2 separate regions of the Homo sapiens genome follow, and region 2 is linked to region 1. Evidence: promoter capture Hi-C in 16 types of primary human blood cells and fetal thymus (Javierre and others, 2016). All regions are on one chromosome and are shown on one strand. Each heading gives the region's core, a stretch centred on a gene start or on the middle of the fragment in contact. The rest is flanking DNA. Distances are from core to core; before and after follow the strand shown.

The links. Contacts are between HindIII fragments. The CHiCAGO score rates a contact against its expected background, and 5 or more counts as called.
Region 2: a contact is called between a fragment that was not itself captured here and the fragment with the promoter of TMEM47 in region 1, in 1 of 17 cell types (M0 macrophages). The highest score is 6.2, in M0 macrophages.

The regions. Positions count from the first base shown.
Region 1 is chrX:34,655,923-34,658,733 of GRCh38, forward strand. It overlaps TMEM47 (transmembrane protein 47), which reads right to left and starts at 1,363. Exons shown (of 3, transcript NM_031442.4): 1 at 882-1,363. The coding sequence starts at 1,107. The HindIII fragment of the contact is 6,187 bases long and covers 1-2,811 here.
Region 2 is chrX:36,877,573-36,880,383 of GRCh38, forward strand. No RefSeq gene overlaps it. Among named protein-coding and RNA genes, the nearest start is that of FAM47C, 130 kb to the right of the region's middle. The HindIII fragment of the contact is 785 bases long and covers 956-1,740 here.

The sequences.
Region 1 (2,811 bases), core at 113-2,612:
ATTTTTGCTAAGGGCATAACTGGGGCGCCGGGGAAGGCAACTGGAGGGTCAGGGAGGGCGGAAAGCAGTAAAGCCCCCTGGGACTGGTAGCCTCAGTAGCTACCTTATTCTCCACTCCCCACCCCCATCTTATCCATTTGCAGCTTTCAGCGCTGGCGGAATAAAGCACAACTTTCTAGGCATCTGTGAGTAGCTCATGGAGAAAAGAAAGGTCTGGAGGAGAGAAGAGTTACTTAGAGTGGCAGAGAAAGAAAGGCAACTCACAATCAACGGCGGCGTCACCAAAAAAGGAAAGGAAAACAAGCCTGTCCCTCTCTCAACTCTTCATATCCATCAAAAACGTAAGGAAATAAAATCCAAACCGAAATACATTGGTGAAAACGCAGATAAGGTGGAGTGGAACCGGCAGAAATGTGAACACTAGGCAAATTCGTCCTCGAGAGAGGAAGGAAAAAGAGTGGGGAAGACCGAACAGCGAACCCCCGCAGCATCTCGGTGGAGTTGGGGCGTTTTTGCCTGCTTCTTTTTTAACGGGGGTGTGGAAGGCGTCGCATTTTTTTACACAGCCACATGGCTCTCGCCTCAAATGATAACAAATACCCAAAATAGCGTACGTGTTACTCCAGAACAGGAGGAATGGCCACGGGGAAGGGAGAGGGCGTGGGCTGTCGCTTTAGGTTTGGCGACCAGGGATGGGGAGGGAAGAGGGGTGGATGCCAGGGAGGTGGCGGGAGCCCCAGGATCCGAGAAGGGCCTGGACGGGGTGGGACGGGCCAGGGCAGAGGATGCGGGGACGTGGGGACAGGCGGTGACTGTCCTGGCAGTGGGGCGCGGGGCAGTCCGGGGCGGGAGGCAGGGGTCGCGGCGCGCCAGGCCCTCACCGCTGCTGAGCGTGGACTCGCAGTGCCAGATGTCCAAGCTGGCGGGTTTCCGGCAGGACTCCCACAACGACAGGTAGTACTGGTGGTCAGCTGTGACCCAGGCCGGGCTCAGCACCGCCCCCAGGTCCAGACACAGCGCCAGGAAGATGCACACCAGCCCGACCAGCTTCAAGGGGGTCAGCACCGACACGCGCACCTCCTCCATGCCGCTGCCCGCCGAAGCCATTCCTGGGCGCCGCTGTCGTCCGCCCCGCCGCAGGCGAGGACGCCAGGCGGGTCCGGAGAGCCGGGAGCCGGACCTCCCGAAGGGAGAAGCCGCCGAGCTGCCACGCGCGGGGACTCGCTCCCTCGGGGCTCTGCGCGCCCCCTGCCGCGCGGCCAAGGTGGGTCTGCGGAGGCGGCCGGCCGGGTGTGGGTCGTCGGCAGCCGCAGCGACGTCGATTCCACCCCGGACCTTCGCCGCCGGCCCCGCGCCGCGCTCTGCCAGCGCCCGCGCCCGCTCCTCCCGGCTCGGCCGGGCTCGCTCCGCCCCGGCCCCTCCCCGGGCTGCGGGAGGCGGTGCCGTACGGGGAGGGGCGGAGGGCCAGCACTTGGTGGCTTCGGCTCCAGTTCCCAGTGCCGGAGGCTCGCGCCTGTCCCGCCCCTACCCCGCCTCTGGCCCGCGGGCGGAGCCCAGTGCCAGCCCGCGCCCCCGATTCGCAGCGCGCGGCAGTTCCTTGAAGCAGCCCCGCGCCCAGCCCGGCCCTCGCCGGGCCCCCAGCCTCGCTGGCTCCAGGTCGCCGGGCTCTCCCCTTTCGCCCAGTCACGTGGGTTTCCTTTTCTTAGGGAGCAGGAGTGGGCGGTTTTCTAGAAGGCGCCAGAGGTGGATTCCTAGGTTTCCTAAGCTGTGCCTCTTGGAGCAAGGACAGGTCCTCTGTCTCTCAGTGATGTAACACGCCCCTCCCCGGACAATTTCACATCCTGAGAGATTTGCGGGACGGAGGAGAAAAGTGACTAAATGCATTTTGCCCTCTTTTCAAAACCAGACGGGCCCAGGAGTCCCCCGGTTTTCCCTGTTTTCTCACTTCTCCGCTAGCCTGCTGCCGCTTCTGTTCTCTGGGCTCACCTGCTTTTGCGCCCCCCTATGAAGGGCATTTGCTCTGAAAACGCAGGCGCTAAAAAGGAAATGAGAGCTCCTGCGAAATATGAAGTAAGTCTTATTTCCATCTCCACTGCTCTGCCCTTTGGGTGTTGGCTAAAACCTTTATTAATTCCGCTTTGCATTATGCCAAGCTGGATCTAATTCCCCTCCTGGGTATTAGGATGTCCTTGTCCTTAGCAAGATCTAGCCCAGGACCTGCAATAGGAAAAGTGATGTGTATATTTCCTGAATGGTAAACTAAGCAGTCTACAAATATTTGTTGAGCATCTAAGGGCTAAGGATTCAACACAATAGGACATCGTCCTGTTCTTAAGTAGATGCACCATATTTTCTCCCTTATGTGAGGACTAAACACCTCTTGAAATTGAAATTGAAATTTTGTAATTGCCTGGTTCAGCATGTGATTGGTGGGTTATCTGTCTCTTGTAGCTCTTTGACTCATCTCCATCTTTTCTATAAAATAAATAATTTATTGAATACATTAATGAGGAGGGGCGATGTTTCTAGATCTTTAGTCATCCCAAAAACTTGGTGAGACTCCCAAAACAGTGGTTAAGAGCTGAAGAATGCAAGAAACATGTTCTCTCTTCTATGAAACACAATCCTCAATGTTGCAAGATTTCATACTTTTGGTTGATAAAAATTATTTTTCCCCAACCACATCTTTCCATAGGTTGAACACATGTTGACTGCAGCAACATTTTGGGCTAAGAAACAATCGAGTTAGTGTCAAATGAGAACAAACCTAATGTAAAATAAACGCCCGGGCTTTTCTTATATTTACAATTT
Region 2 (2,811 bases), core at 98-2,597, 2.2 Mb after region 1:
GTTGAAGAGATGTATTGTGCACCATGGTGACTATAGTTAATAACAATGTATTGTATTCTTGAAAATTACTCAGAGTAGATTTTAAGTGTTCTCATGACAAAACACAAATGATGAGAGGTAATGTGAATGTTAATTAGCCCAATTTTGCCATTACACAGTGTATATATATTTCAAAACAACATGTTATACATGATAGATATATACAAATGTTATTTGTCAATTAAAATAAATAAGAAAAAAAGAATTATACCTTCAAGTTGTTTCGTTAAAGAAAGAAAAAGGAGAAATTCTAGGCGAATAAATGACTAAAATCCTCTATCTTCTTTCAGCCCTATTTCATTGTGGGGGATCTTTCACTCCACCATTATTTTCTCAATACACAGTGGTGAATGACCCACTTGTTCATAGCAGATGGGTAGCCCCTCCTGTTTCCAATCTGTTTTTGGATTTCCCCCATACTGAATAGGTACCAGCTCTACTTTGTTATGATTATTGCTTTTATCTTTACAACTACTCTTATCCTGGCTGACACATAATACATTTTTGTTTCGATGAATTACTCCAGCCTTAAGGGGTCCTGCTACTACTCTGGCAACTCCCTGTTCCTTCCCATCTAATAAACGTTAAGTAGTATTCTTTGATCCCTGTAGCCTCATCTTGGTAATCTCTCTAGCTAGAACATGGAGTCAGGTTAAAAACCAGAGTCTTCTCAGTTCACCTCACGGGAGCAGTTAATAGAAACTGGAAGCACTAACTCAAGCATCAAAGAAATGAAATAACAAGAAAGGATGAATAACAGTTTTTAATAGTGGGAGGCCGCTATCTTCAGTGCATAATGAATGTGCATCAATGTCACTCTAAATTGTGGTTTCTAATGAATTTTAAATGTAATGTGCGATTTTTTAGCTGTTAATCATAAAAATGAAATAATCTAGGTTAGAGTCAAATAATGTGAAGCTTGTTCTGAGATTCCTTCCATAGACGCTCTCCTTCTGTTGACCCACTATCTGCCTCCACCAACTTAAGAACAAGGGTACAAATTAGGCAGCTGTGATCTGTAACTGGCTTGCCAGAACTATGACATACTGTAAGAGAAGAAACGACCCTCTACCTGTCACATTTTTAACCTCTTCCTTACTGAGTCATATTTAATCATATTTCAAAACAGGAATAAGTAAATCACACTACAGATCCCTGTATATGTTTTTTTTTCAATGAATCCATTAACCAGTTCCATTGTAGAGAGATTACATCAATTCAAAAATGTAAATTCCAGCTTTTCAAACTCAGCTCAGTAAAATTCTAAACTTCATTTCTAGATATCTGTTTACATGGGAAATTTATAACTTTCTGGCAGATAACTTGAAACACAGGAATAGCTAAGTGAGAAAGTATTTGAGTGATAGTATAGAGATTATCAATATTTCTGCTAATTGTTCACATTTTGTTTTTTCTCTTCCACATTTTCCCACAGGAAAAATCAGAAAAGAACACTCTCCATCGTCAGAAAGCATGACATTGTTGCCATATATGGAACAATTAAAAGTTATATCTCATCTGGAAGAAATATGACGGAAAAATTAATAAAGGAGGACCAGGTGGTAGAGGATTTAATGAAATGAAGGAATAATGAAAGGGTGTCTTAAACTAAGGCTACTCCATAACTTCGCTTGTATTAATGATAAGATATAGGTAGCCAGGATTTGGTCTGGGAATCTTCTATATTGATGCTATTGGATAAGCTTTAGAAGTAGATGAAATTCATGAGGTGAACTATCATTGCAAACCCTGAATTTTTCGTCTCTATCTCTGCCTAAATTCTGCACAGAATCCACTGTACTGAAAACTTTAGCATGACAGAAGTGACATATTAAAACAAATATTGCTGTCAGAGTGGTCTTCCTAAAATGCAAGTCCGACTACATTACTCTCTTTTATAGAGTCATCATTGCTCTCCTGTATAAGTTCAAATGCCCTGACACGGCTTGCATGGCCATATACTATCTTGCCCCCTCTCTTAAAACTTCCCTGTCCTGGGCCATGCGCGGTGGCTCACGCCTGTAATCCCAACACTTTGGGAGGCTGAGGTGGGCAGATCACAAGGTCAAGGGATCGAGACCATCCTGGCCAACATGGTGAAATCCCGTCTCTACTAAAAATGCAAAAATTACCTGGGTGTGGTGCCATGCAACTGTAGTCCCAGCTACTAGGGAGGCTGAGGCAGGAGAATCGCTTGAACCCGGGAGGCGGAGGTTGCAGTGAGCCAAGATTGTGCCACTGCACTCCAGCCTGGCGACAGAGCGAGACTCTGCCTCAAAAAAGAAAACAAAAAACAAACAACAAACAAACAAAAAAAACTTCCCTGTCCTTTCCTTGTCTTCCTCATTTTTAATTTCTTCTTCTAGGAAAGCTGTCTCTTTGTATAGTATATGTTCACCAATCTGGACAAGCACTCATCCCCTTGATCTGGCTAACACCTTAATATCATTCATATCTCATATCTACTTCCTCTGCACAGCTTTCCCTGATCATGTCCCTCCAACCTAGTGTCCCTGTTATGTGATTTTATAGTACCTTACACTTAACTTTTAGTACTGCACTTACTCTATACCATCATAGTGTATTTATCTGTCTTTCTTACTAAACTACAAATGCATTCTTTGTCATTGTTTCCTTAGCACCTTATACCCTATCTGACACACAGAATGTAATGAATATTTGTTGAATGTTTAATAAAAAAAAAAGAAGCAGATCCTATTGCAGAAATCATCTATGTAATATTTATTAACAGTTTTGTCAGAAATATGACAA